2 separate regions of the Homo sapiens genome follow, and region 1 is linked to region 2. Evidence: promoter capture Hi-C in human tissues and cell types (Jung and others, 2019). All regions are on one chromosome and are shown on one strand. Each heading gives the region's core, a stretch centred on a gene start or on the middle of the fragment in contact. The rest is flanking DNA. Distances are from core to core; before and after follow the strand shown.

The links. Contacts are between HindIII fragments. The study calls those that stand out against the background at their distance.
Region 1: a fragment that was not itself captured here is called in contact with the fragment with the promoter of NUP210L in region 2 in 2 of the 25 tissues and cell types used here (bladder and liver).

Annotation. Positions count from the first base shown.
Region 1 is chr1:154,044,450-154,051,613 of GRCh38, forward strand. It overlaps NUP210L (nucleoporin 210 like), which reads right to left. Exons shown (of 40, transcript NM_207308.3): 26 at 1,840-1,920; 27 at 1,620-1,751. Among named protein-coding and RNA genes, the nearest start is that of MIR5698, 57 kb to the right of the region's middle. The HindIII fragment of the contact is 5,090 bases long and covers 1,220-6,309 here.
Region 2 is chr1:154,150,544-154,157,133 of GRCh38, forward strand. It overlaps NUP210L (nucleoporin 210 like), which reads right to left and starts at 4,530. Exons shown (of 40, transcript NM_207308.3): 1 at 4,299-4,530; 2 at 2,193-2,329. The coding sequence starts at 4,501. It also overlaps a transcript of TPM3 not described here. RefSeq lists enhancers at 3,863-4,363, 4,364-4,864 and a silencer at 5,471-5,648. The HindIII fragment of the contact is 16,458 bases long and covers 1-6,590 here.

The DNA.
Region 1 (7,164 bases), core at 2,515-5,014, 110 kb before region 2:
TACATTAAATTGCATCAAACTAAGTACAGTTCCATTCTTCCACAATTCCAGTATAACTAGACTCTAGGAAGTCACAGACAGAAGATCTAACCACTAGAGTTTCCTTAAATTATAGGTTAAGGATATTTTTAGAAAGATTACAAATTTTTTTTTACTTTTTCCAAAGTTCTCTTTTCTTTTTAGCTGGCTGCCGAAATATCCTCGTAATTCTAGCTCCTGTAACCCCTCTATTATCTCCCAAGATATAACTCTAATTCTTTGTTCTCGTGAGCACTGAATTGTGACCTACTGGGTATCATGGCCCCATGTCCTTTTTCCTAAGGTAAAACCCAGATGTAGCTGGTTGCCACTGTACTCAGACCACCTTGGGTGAGTTTCATTTAGGTAAAATTTGTCGGCAGCAAACTTTACATAGTTTCTGCCAAACTTGCTTTTTTTTTGTCTTTTTCAGGTTTCAGTGTGAGGTTTAATACTATATGCATCAAAACATCAAAGCTTTTTTTCAGAGAAATATACTCTCAAGTTGAACTGTGGATATCCTAGATGTCTATCCTGAGGTCTTCTATGGTTCCAGATACAGCAGGTAGTGAATTGGGAGGAGCCAATACCACCAGATACCAAAGGGAACCATGGAGGGGCAGTTTAATTAATCACTGTTCTTAAACTTGTCGTTGATATAAGACACCCAGTCCAGAATCAGCTGCCCAGTTGATAGGCGACTACAGCTCCGTGGTACCCATGGTGCCTGACATGGGAATCCAGTTCTTCCCCAATTCCAAGTAGGGTGGGCTGGGAGCATGCTAAACAAAGCAATGCCACCTACAGCCCTCTATATTTGCTTTTCTTACTATTAATGTAATCACCCAGCATGTAGCACAACCATGATTATGAATATAATCAAATGTGTGTCTGAACATGATAAAAAATAAAAATTGTATATTTATTTTTTATACTTTATGCATATACTTTATATTCATAGTGTTACTCATCTAACATAGTCATCTGCTCACAAATACAACATTACAACAACATTAATAAATACAATATTAAAAGAAAGATCACTTTTGAGAGCTCTTTCCAGCAAAAAATAAAAATAAATAATCATACAGTATTATCTGCATACTCAAATTTGGATTCTTTATTGCTTTGCAGGTTTCCAGAGTTCAGAGTTCAGAGAACAGTAGGAAAAGTAAATAAGTAATAATATTGTGTAGTTTAGGGAGTGAGTAATCAGTCTAAAACTTATGATAGGATGAGCATGGTGGCTCACGCCTGTAATCCCAGCACTTCGGGAGGTCACAGTGGGTGGATCACCTAAGCTCAGGAGCTCAAGAACAGCCTGGGCAACAAGGCAAAAACCCCATCTCAACAAAAAAGTACAAAAAATTAGCCAGGCATGATGGCATGTGCCTGTGGTCCCAGCTACTCGGGAGGCTGAGGTGGGAGGATCACTTTAGCCTAGGAGGTGGAGGTTGCAGTGAGCTGAGATTGCACCACTGCACTCCAGCCTGGGGGACAGAGTGAGACCTCATCTCAAAACAAAAAGAAACTTATGATAAATTAAAATAAATTTAATATCAAGATCCCTAAGATAACACAATAAACAGGCAAATTCTTACCTCTGAATGCCTGGGCACTAGATCCAATACATCCCTTTTGCTCATAGACCAGTGGAATGTGAGCCCAGGATTAGCATTGCTGAAGGAGAAAGGGGTCTGGGTACTGGTTACTCCCATGACATAAACTGGCATCTGAAAATAAATAGCAGCATTGTGCTATATATTCTGCCCAGTTGCAATTATCAGAATAATGAGCCCTGAACAGAGCCATCATACTGACCTTGGTAGCTGTGATGAGCCGAGTTGCAGCTGCAAGGATCCTAACAGCCCTTAGCTGAACAACTTCAATCTGTACTTCATCCTGCTCAACAGGGTGGAGAGCAAGCTTAGGCTAAGAGGGAGTTTCTGTGGGGTGGACAGAGATGCTTTTGATAACTAGTTTGCTATTGTTTTTAACATTCAGTAAAAAACCTTGCCCATGCTTATTGCAGCACTATTCACAATAGCCAATATTTGGAGCCAACCTAAGTGTCCATCAACAAACAAATGGATAAAGAAAATGTGGTACATATGTACAACAGAGTACTATTCAGCCATAAAAAGAATGAGATCCTGTCATTTGCAACAACATGGATGGAACTAGAGATCATTATGTCAAGTGAAATAAGCCAGGCATAGAAAGACAAAGATAAACTTCCCATGTTCTCACTTATATATTTATGGGAGCTAAAAATTAAAACAGTTGAACTCATGGAGATAAAGAATAGAATGATGGGCTGTGCACGGTGGCTCACGCCTGTAATCCCAGCACTTTGGGAGGCCGGGTGGATCACTTGAGGTTAGGAGTTCAAGACCAGCCTGACCAACATGGTGAAACCCATTTCTACTGAAAATACAAAATTAGCTGGGTGTGGTGGCATGTGCCTGTAGTCTTAGCTACTTGGGAGGCTGAGGCAGGAGAGTCGTTTGAATCCGGGAGGCGGAGGTTGCAGTGAGCCGAGATCATGCCATCGCACTCCAGCCTGGGCAACAAGAGCGAAACTCCGACTCAAAACAAACAAAAAAGTAGAACAATGGTTACCAGAGGCTGGGAAGGGCAGTGGGTGGGTAGGGGGGCTATGGGGATGATTAATGGGCAGAAAAATATAGTTAGAATGAAAAAGGGCTAGTATTTGATAGCACAGCAGGGTGACTACAGTCAACAATAAGTTATTGTTTATTTAAAAATAACTAAAAGAGTATAATTGGATTGTCTGTAACACAGAAAGGATAAATGCTTGAGGTGGTGGATACCCCATTTACCCTGATGTAGTTAATATGCATTGTATGCCTATATCAAAATAACTCATATACTGTTGGGAACAGGCCCCCAAATCTGGCCATAAACTGGCCCCAAAAATGGCCATAAACAAAATCTCTGCAGCACTGTGACATGTTCGTTATGGCCATGATGCCCACGCTGAAGGTTGTGGGTTTACCAGAATGAGGACAAGGAACACCTGGCCCACTCAGGGTGGAAAACTGCCTAAGGCGTTCCTAAGCCACAAACAATAGCATGAGCAATCTGTGCCTTAAGGACATGTTCCTGCTGCAGATAACTAGCCAAAGCCCATCCCTTTGTTTCATGTAAGGAATGCTTTTAGTTAATCTATAATCTATAGAACCAATGCTTATCACTGGCTTGCTGTCAATAAATATGTGGGTAAATCTCTGTTCATGGCTCTCAGCTCTGAAGGCTGTGAGCCCCCTGATTTCCCACTCCACACTCTATATTTCTGTGTGTGTGTCTTTAATTCCTCTAGTGCCACTGGGTTAGGGTCTCCACGACTGAGCTGATCTCGGTAAGTGGTGCCCATACGTGGGGCTCCAACCTGGGTCAAAGGGTCATTGGAGCGACGGTTGGAGAATGTGGAACTAAGCTGGAGGACACCTGAGTACTCTTAAGCAATCCCTGTGGTGAGTAAGAAGGGGAGCTTGGAAGCATCAGGGTAACAATGGAACAAGTGTGGGCTCTAGTTTGTTCCACCTTGGAACATTTTCACACTGATGATGTGGAGGAAGGAAAGTATATCGAAATAACAGAAGAGGTGAAAGAGCAGGTTTGTTTGCCAGCTAAAGCTAAAGTGGCAAAGAGGAAGAGGTTCATCCCTACCCTTCTGCACCCCCTCCTTATTTTGAAGAAAAAGAGTGGCCTGACCCTCCAGATCTTTCTTTTCCAGAGGACACTGGGCAAAAAGTAGTTGCCCCAGTGACTGTTCAAGTAGCGCCTCAAGCAACCGCTCTCAGTTCTATTCAGGCAGGAATCCAGCAAGCTAGAAGAGAGGGTGATATAGAGGCTTGGCAGTTCCCTGTTAGGATACACCCCCCAGATCAACAAGGAAATATTATAGCTATGTTTGAGCTTTTTCCTTTTAAAATACTTAAAGAGTTTAAACAGGCCATTAATCAGTATGAGCCAGGTGTATGCCCGAAGTGTAAAAAAGGAAAACATTGGACTAATCAGTGTCACTCTAAGTTTGATAAAGATGGGAAACCGATTTTGGGAAATGCCATGAGGGGCCTATCCTGGGCCCTGTTCCAAACCAGGGCATTTCTGGCTCAGGCCACTCCCTCACCCCTGTACAATGTCTGTCCCCCACCACAGCTGGTAATGCCGCAGTAGATTTATGCTGCACAAAAGCTGTGAGTCTTCTGCCTGGGGAGCCCCAGCAAAAAGTACCTACGGGAGTCTGTGGACCCTTGCCAGCGGGGATGATAGGATTACTTCTAGGTAGATCTAGTTTAAATTTAAAAGGAGTGCAAGTACATACAGGAGTCCTTGATTCATATTACAGTGGGGAAATTCAAATTGTTATATCTACTTCTGTTCCCTGGAAAGCAGAGCCAGGAGAGCGTATAGCACGGCTCCTGATTGTGCTGTATGTGGAAATGGGGAAAAGTGAAAAACAAGAGGATTTGGGAGCACAAATAAACAAAGCAAAGCAGCTTACTGGGTGAATCAAACTACTGATAAACATCCTCCCTGTGAAATAACTATTCAGGGAAAGAAATTTAAAGGTTTGGTAGATACAGGAGTGGACATTTCAATCATTTCTCTACAGCACTGGCCATCTGTGTGGCCAATTCAACCCGCTCAATTTAACATAGTTGGAGTTGGTAAAGCCCCTGAAGTATATCAAAGTAGTTATATTTTGCATTGTGAAGGGCCCAATGGACAACCTGGGACTATTCAACCAATTATAACTTCTGTACCCTTAAATTTATGGAGAAGAGATTTATTACAACAATGGGGAGCACAAGTTCTAATTCCAGAGCAATTATATACCCCTCAAAGTCAACATATGATGCATGAAATAGGGTACGTCCCTAGTATGGGACTAGAAAAATACTTGCAGGGTTTGAAGGAACCGCTTCAAACAGAAAGAAAAGTTCCTGCCAAGGGTTTAGGATATCATTTTTGATGGCAGCCATTGTTAAGCCTCCAGAATCTATAGCTTTAAAATGGTTAACAGACAAGCCAATTTGGATAGAACAATGGCCGTTAAGTAAAGAGAAACTGGAGGCTTTAGAGGACTTAGTTACTGAACAATTAGAAAAAGGACACATAGCTCCAGCATTTTCCCCTTGGAATTCTCCAGTCTTTGTTATTAAGAAAAAATCAGGTAAATGGAGAATGCTGACAGATCTTAGAGTCATTAATTCAGTTATACAACCTATGGGGGCATTACAGCCAGGACTGCCTTCTCCTGCTATGATTCCAAAAAACTGGCCTTTAATGTCATAGATTTAAAAGACTGTTTCTTTACTATCCCCTTAGCTTAGCAAGACTGTGAATGGTTTGCATTTACAATTCCTGCAGTAAACAACCTGAAGCCTGCTAAGCGTTTTCATCGGAAAGTGTTGCCAGAAGGCATGTTAAACAGTCCAGCAATTTGCCAGAAGTATGTAGGGCAAGCAATTGAACCTACTCATAAAAAATTTTCACAGTATTACATTATTCCTTATATGGACGATATACTTTGTGCTGCCCCCACTCGAGAAATATTACCCCAATATTATGATCATTTACAAAATTCGATTTCTTGCACTGGTTTAATTATAGCTCCTGACAAAATTCAGACTACTACTCCTTACTCCTACTTAGGAACCTTAGTAAGTGACACTACAATAGTGCCACAGAAAGTAACCATATGTAGGGATCAATTGAAAACATTAAATGACTTTCAAAAATTACTAGGGGACATTAATTGGATATGACCTGCTCTAGGCATTCCTACCTTGCCATGAGTAATCTATTTTCTATCCTTAGAGGAGATCCTAGTCTCACTAGCCCTCGACAATTAACAAAGGAGGCTGAGGCAGAGTTACAGCTGATTGAAAAGCAAGTCCATAAAGCTCAAAAGATAGAATAGATCCAGAGAAGACTCCAGATTTGCTAATGTTTTCAATTCAGCATTCACCTACTGGTGTTATTGTCCAAGAGCAGGACTTAGTAGAATGTTTTTTTCTTCCACATACTAATTCACAGACTCTAACTCCTTATTTGGATCAAATTGCTACCTATGATAGGAAATGGGAGAACTCAGATTGTCAAATTACATGGATATGATCCCAGAAAAATTATTGTCCCTCTCACGAAGGCATAAATACAGCAAGCTTTTATAAATAGTCTTTCTTGGCAAATCCATTTAGCTGATTTTGTGGGTATTCTCAATAATCATTTTCCTGAAACAAAATTATTTCAATTTTTGAAATTAACTAATTGGATTCTCCCTAAAATAATTAAATTTAAACCAATTGAAGATGCTGAAAATGTCTTCACAGTTGGGTCTAATAATGGTAAAGCTTCTTATTCTGGCTCAAAAGGTAAAGTTTTTCAGATGCCCTATACTTCAGCTCAAAAAGCAGAGCTTGTAGCTGTAATTGAGGTATTGACTGCTTTTGATATGCCTATTAATGTGAGTTCCAATTCTTCATATGGGGTACATTCTACACAGTTAGTTGAAAATGCTCAGCTACAATTCCACACTGATGAGCAACTGATGACTTTATTTACCCAATTGCAAATAGCAGTTAGGAGTAGAATGCACCCTTTTTACATCACTCACATTAGGGCTCATGTAACTCTTCCAGGACCTTTAACTGAAGGGAATCAAATGGCTGATTGCCTAGTTGCTACTACAATATATAATGCTAGACATTTTCACAATTTTTTTTTTGAGATGGAGTCTTGCTCTGTTGCCCAGGCTGGAGTGCAGTGGCGTGATCTTGGCTCACTGTAAGCTCTGCCTCCTGGGTTCACGCCATTCTCCTGCCTCAGCCTCCCAAGTAGCTGGGACTACAGGCACCCGCTACCACACCCAGCTAATTTTTTTATTTTTATTTTTAGTAGAGATGGGGTTTCACTGTGTTAGCCATGATGGTCTCGATCTCCTGACCTCGTTATCCAACTGCCTCAGCCTCCCAAAGTGCCGGGATTACAGGTGTGAGCCACTGTGCCTGGCCGACACTTTCACAATTTAACCCATGTTAATGTCTCTGGTCACAAAGCGCAGATACAGCATTACCTGGAAAGAAGCTAAAACTATTATCCAGCGATGCCCAA
Region 2 (6,590 bases), core at 3,280-5,779:
ATGGTGAAACACCATCTCTACTAAAAATACAAAAATTAGCCAGGCGTGGTGGCGCATGCCTGTAGTCCCAGCTACTCAGGAGGCTGAGGCAGGAGAATTGCTTGAACCCAGGAGGTGGAGGTTGCAGCGAGCCAAGATCGCGCCATTGCACTCCAGCCTGGATAACACAGCAAGACTCCATCTCAAAAAAAAAAAAAAAAAAAAAGGACTTAAATGCCAATGGCAAGCTTACATCTTTTTACCTTTATATATGCCTTATAAAGTAGGCAACTCAATAAATATCTGTCCAAGGAATTAATGAACAATTTCTCTTAGGCATGCACTTCTCTTTCAAAATGCCCAATCCCACCCCTTTCCTACTACTTGCTCCCATTCAGATGCTCCTAGTAGGACACCAAGACTGGCCCTTACCACTGGGAATCTCATCTATGTACACAATTGTATTAATAGTAAAATTGGGAAAGTTGATTTAAGGATACTTAACTTTGGAAAATTGGTCCCAAGTCAGACGAAGTTAAGCTGAGAGCAAGATTTGACATTTTTCCTAGTACTTCTGTGAATTTTTTTATATCAGAATGAATTTGTGTAGTTAAAAATGATTACATTTTAAAAATCGCATATGTGACCAAATCAATGTTTTTTGTTTTTTCTGACTTTCGTATCCTTCTCTATCCTTTTTAGCTACCCTGCATGACATGGTCTTCAAAGATTCTTATGTTTGAGACTATCATACCATATTTCATTGATTCTTAGACACTCGTTTTTTATCTTTTAACATCTCTGCAATTGGGATTTATCTTATAATTGATGACATCTTACAAGTCCTCTCAGCCAGGCAGCAGTCAAGATATAGTTGTCACTGACTGCACATGTGAGAACATTAAGAGGGCCAGTAACAAAATTTGTAGAATAGGTGTTAGTAGTTGGAAAAAAATCTGGTGAAAAATAGCAGAGGACTCTTATTCCCTAGGAACCAAAAGGTTAAAGGGAGTGGGGGAAAAGTGATGACTCAGATGTACTAGGAAATTTTCCAAAGCTGGAAACAAAAATAGATTAGTTCTATCTAATTGCAAAGTCCACTTAAGAATAGGTTTTAGGTGGTTTTTAAAAATTCTTTTAATTTATTTATTATTATTGTTTTGTAGAGATGGAGTCTCACTGTGTTGCGCAGGCCAGGCAGGATGCAGTGAGCTACTGTCGTGCCATTGCACTACAACCTGTGCAACAAAGCAAGACCCTGTCTCTAAAAAAAGAGAAAATGCTGTCCGGGCACGGTGGCTCACACCTATAATCCCAGCACTTTGGGAGGCTGAGGCAGGTAGATCACCTGAGGTCGGGAGTTTGAGACCAGCCTGACCAACATGGAGAAACCCCCTTTCTACTAAAAATACAAAAATTAGCCAGGTGTGGTGGCAGTGCGCCTGTAATCCCAGCTACTCAAGAGGCTGAGCCAGGAGAATCGCTTGAACCTGGGAGACAGAGGTTACAGTGAGCCAAGATCACGCCACTGCACTCCAGCCTGGGCAACAAAAGCGAAACTCCGTCTCAAAAAAAAAAAAAAAAAGAAAGAAAGAAAGAAAAAATGAAAATCCTGCCTAATACTCTTCATTTTTATTTTATTTTATTTTATTTTATTTTGTTTTATTGAGATGGAGACTCCCTCTGTCGCCCCGCTGGAGTGCAGTGGCACAATCTTGGCTCACTGCAACCTGTGTCTCCCGGGTTCAAGCGATTCTCCTGCCTCAGCCTCCCTGAGTAGCTGGGACTACAGGTGTGCGCCACCACGCCCGGCTAATTTTTTTGTATTTTTAGTAGAGACGAGGTTTTACCATGTTGGCCAGGCTGGTCTCAAATTCCCCACCTCAGGTGATCCACCCACCTCGGCCTCCCAAAGTGGGGGGATTACAGGCGCGAGCCACCGCCCCCAGCCATAATTTTTTTTTTTTTTTTGTAGAGATAGGTCTCACTCTGTTACCCAGACTGTTCTTAAACTCCTGAGCTCAAGCAATCTTTCTGCCTCAGCCTCCCAAAGTGCTGGGATTAAAGGCGTGAGCCACTGCAGCCAGCTAGGAATCATTTATTCTCCCTTTGATCATTTGAAGCCAACACCATTTGTGTTAACTATCTATACAAAATACCAGATTATTCTACCCCAGAAGAAGTGATACATAGTGTTTTTGCTCTCAACATACCTATTTCTCGAGCAAGAATAATACTGCTGAGGCGTATCGGTTGCGTAGATTCAGCAATGAGTACAGCTTTTTGGGAACACAAGGTGCCATTTTCATATAAAGGCTCAACAGTAACTGCATCATGATGGGTGGAATGCCTGCCAGAACAAAATTCTTAAGAGTGTGAAATAGGTGGGTTAAAATTAACTTTTAGTGGAACATAGATTCTCACACTTCTTCCATGTTACATACTACCAGGTATATGTAAATGACACTTTTTAAAGAAGGAACATTGCTTAGGGATGCGATAATTAAACTGAGAGATTGATGAGAACTTTCCCAATGATCCCTTGAACAAAGTCCCAGAAATATCCCTCCCTCAATTTTTTTTAAAAGATTTTTATATTCTTCCCTCAGTATGCAGAAATACGACTGATGTGTTTCTAGTAATGAGAGGGGACTTTCTCATACTCTGAGGAAAGTTTCCTTCAATCCTAGAAACCAGGCTTCTGATATCTAGGATGGAAAAGGTGCCTAAATTATGAGGTGTGAGTCCAACTCAAAATACCAAAAACATTCATAAATATTTTTATTCTTATTTATTATTATGTTTTTGAGACCGAGTCACTTTGTTGCCCAAGCTGAAGTGCAGCAGGGCGATCTCAGCTCACTGCAACATTCGCCTCCAGGGTTCAAGCGATTCTCCTGCCTCAGCCTCTCGAGTAGCTGAGATTACAGGTGTCTGCCACTATGCCCGACTAATTTTTGTATTTTTAGTAGGGATGGGCTTTCATCATGTTGGCCAGGCTGGTCTTGAACTCCTGACTTCAAGTGATCTGCCTGCCCCGGCCTCCCAAAGTGCTGGGATTACAGGCGTGAGCCACTGCGCCCGGCCGAATGTTTTTATTTTAAATAGAGACGGGGTCTCACTATGTTGATCCGGCTGGTCTCAAACTCCTGGCCTCAAGTAATCCTCCTGCCTTGGCCTCCCAAAGTGCTGGGATTACAGGCGTGAGCCACCATGCCTGGCCTCATTAATATTTTTGGAGTGATAGAAGAAATGGCTTTCAATGCTGGAAAGATGCCTTGCATCACCCTCACGGTCAGGAAACACACACGTCACACTGGATCATCTTACAAGCTCACTTTCCTTATACTTCCTCATAAAATGAGAGGTGAATTTATACTCGGAACAAACCTCATTGCTTCTCCTAGGAGATGGCAAAGGGGTATCTACTCCATCTAGGATGAATGCACTGGCATCCTGAAGCTCACTTCGGTTAGGTTCTCTCATACCTTAGGCAACCACATAACCCATCATTGGGTCCTCTCACACCAGAAAATCATGTCTCTTCATCTTCAGTCAGGAAGTCATTATCCCGGAGTTGTGTGTACCCCCTGTCCTCACACTTCAAGCGGGTACCCTTTTATAAATGGGGCAATTTTGATAATACAGACAGATCTCATCTCCACCCACGATAAATCTTCTCATATTCCCAGAAGTTTACACTTCATAGTCTCTGGGCCTCACTTTCCTCGTCTGTGAAATGGGAGTAATAGTACTTACTTCATAAGACTGCAAAAAGCGAATGAGTTAACACATGTAAAGTGCTTAGTTAACCCCCAATACTTGGCTGTTGTGTTTTAAGTCCTTCTCACATTGAATAGCTCATCTATAGTTAGTGGGGACCCTCGCACCCCAAGTTTTCCTGTTCCTACAGAAATTTCCTCAGATATGGGGAACTTCCTCTTACTCTAGTTGTTTACATTGGAAGTCATCAGTACCTGTGGCCTCCAACACAGGGCTTCCCTTTACCCTGACGGCTGCTCATAGTGACCACCCCTTCCCAACACACACAGAGAAGAGGCCAGTCCCACATCCCGAGAATTCCTCACACGTCTGGAAGATTGTCACACAGCTGGAGGATATACCACATGAGTAGGACACGCCACACCCAAGGGTCTGCTCCTCGCCACCTTCACTGACACCACACTCTCCTCCCCTACCGGCTAGGCCCCTTCACGCGGCCCCACACGGTATTCCTGTGGGATCTTACAGAGGGAACCCCCCTCACCCTTACTGGATGGTAGTGAGGGTGCATATCCTTGTCACCCACCACCCCTCACCAAGTGTAGCAGCCCCGCTGGGCCTCCAGCAGGAAAGGCACCCGGCCTGGCTCTCGGCCGAAGGGTAGCAACACCTGTGGCACGTTAAGTTTGTTGGCCAGGGTCCCACGCAAAACCAGAAACAACAACAGGAGGCGGTGTAGACGCAAGAAGAAAAAGAGCCCGAAGCCTCGGCGTCTTGATGACGCCGGACAGCCAGTCATGGCGACTGCCAGGTCTCGGGTTCCCGCTCAACTACAGCCGGCTCACAGCTCCATCAGCCAATCCACAGGCGTGACGTCAGCAGAGGGGGATGGGACCTGCTTCTTGCTCGGATGTGTGGGCATTTTTAAATGCAGTCCTTCAGCAAGCCAATATAATGGAAACTTTTGGCACAAACCCAGCTAAAACACCTCAAACTCTCTTAAAGGGCTTTCCTAAATACTGGATGGCAGACCTTTTTAACAGTAAGGAACAAGCAGAAAAGTCTAAAAAAAACCCTTTAATTTCTTCCAGTTTTAATTTCTTCTGTTGCACACTGTTTATCTTAACACCACACCCTCCGCCCGACAAAAAAACTTTTTGCAATGATTTCCAGTTAGCATTGGTCCATGCCTATCAACGGAAAATTGTGCAGTCTCTGGGATAAACAGCTCGACTTTGTCAAGGGAACCGTGTATTTTTACTAGAAGTCAGATTCACGTCCGGCCTCCAGGCCAGAATGCAGGAAATGCCAGACACTGGCGTCTCAAAAGCAGCTTTCAAAGTTATCCACTCACACAGCCGGCCTCTAAGCAAATACTCTTGAGAGCACTTGTTGTTTTCTCCAAATATCCAAACAGAATATAAACTCAAAGCTGTTTCAGTACAGTTGGTTAAAACCACGCATTTATAGTAGTGATCAGCATTATATATTGTTTTAAGGAGCATAAATCCATAGTTTATAAGGATTGATATGGTTGTGAAGGAAAATGTATATAGTTCAGCCTGAGATGTCAGTGTTAACCTATAAAAGGCCCAGCACATTAAGTGTTCTTTCTAATCTTCATGTTTACTCTGACAATACTTATCTCCATTTTACAGATGATAAAACTAAACATTTGCTCTATATTAAATCCTGTTGCTCCAGCTGGGTGCGGTGGCTCACGCCCGTAATCCCAGCATTTTGGGAAGCTGAGGCAGGTGGATCACCTGAAGGTCAGGAGTTCGAGACCAGCCTGGCCAACATGGTGAAGCCCTGTCTCTACTTAAAATATAAAAAATTACCCGGGCATGGTGGCAGGTGCCTGTAATCCCAGCTACTCGGGAGGCTGAGGCAGGAGAATCTCTTGAACCAGGAGGCGGAGGTTGCAGTGAGCCGAGATCGAGCCATTACGCTCCAGCCCAGGCAACAAGAATGAAACTTCATCTCAAAAATAATAATAATAAAGAATAAATCCTGTTGCTACCACCCACAAAGATGCTATTTTTAACCCAAACCTCATAGCTTCTGTGGAGAAAGCACATTTAGTTTTAATAAATAAAAGTCAAATAGGTCTGAGGGTTGGAGGGACTGGTTCTTTATTTCAAAAAGACACTTGTCAATATTCAGTATCAAAACAGTTGCACTATTGATTTCTCTTTCTCCCAATCGGCCCCAAAGAGACCACATAAAAGGAGAGTACATTTTAAGCCAATAAGCTGCAGGATGTACACCTAACAGACCTCCTAGAAACCTTACCAGAAAATGGGGACTGGGTAGGGAAGGAAACTTAAAAGATCAACAAACTGCCAGCCCACGGACTGCAGAGGCTGTCACAGCCAGATGGGGTGGCCAGGGTGCCACAAACCCAAAGCAAAGTTTCAAAATAATATAAAATTTAAAAAGTTTTGTACATAAGCTATTCAAGATTTCTCCAGCACTGACTGATACAAAGCACAATTGAGATGGCACTTCTAGAGACAGCAGCTTCAAACCCAGAAAAGGGTAATGAGATGAGTTTCACATGGCTAAATCAGTGGCAAAAACACAGTCTTCTTTCTTTCTTTCTTTCAAGGAGGCAGGAAAGCAATTAAGTGGTCACCTCAACATAAGGGGGACATGATCCATTCTGTAAGCAGTTGTGAGGGGGTAGAGATGGGACAAAATTTTGGTCTCAGAGGTCTTACCATCTTAATTTGGTAACTTCTAATGAAAAAAATAAAAAATAGAAATAACATTATCCAAAGATATCTTAAAGCTGAAAACTTGAACAGCACATTTTTTGTTTTTGTTGTTGTTTGGCTAACTCCTCCTGGAATCACCTTTCTGGTTTAGCTAGTACTTTGTACAGA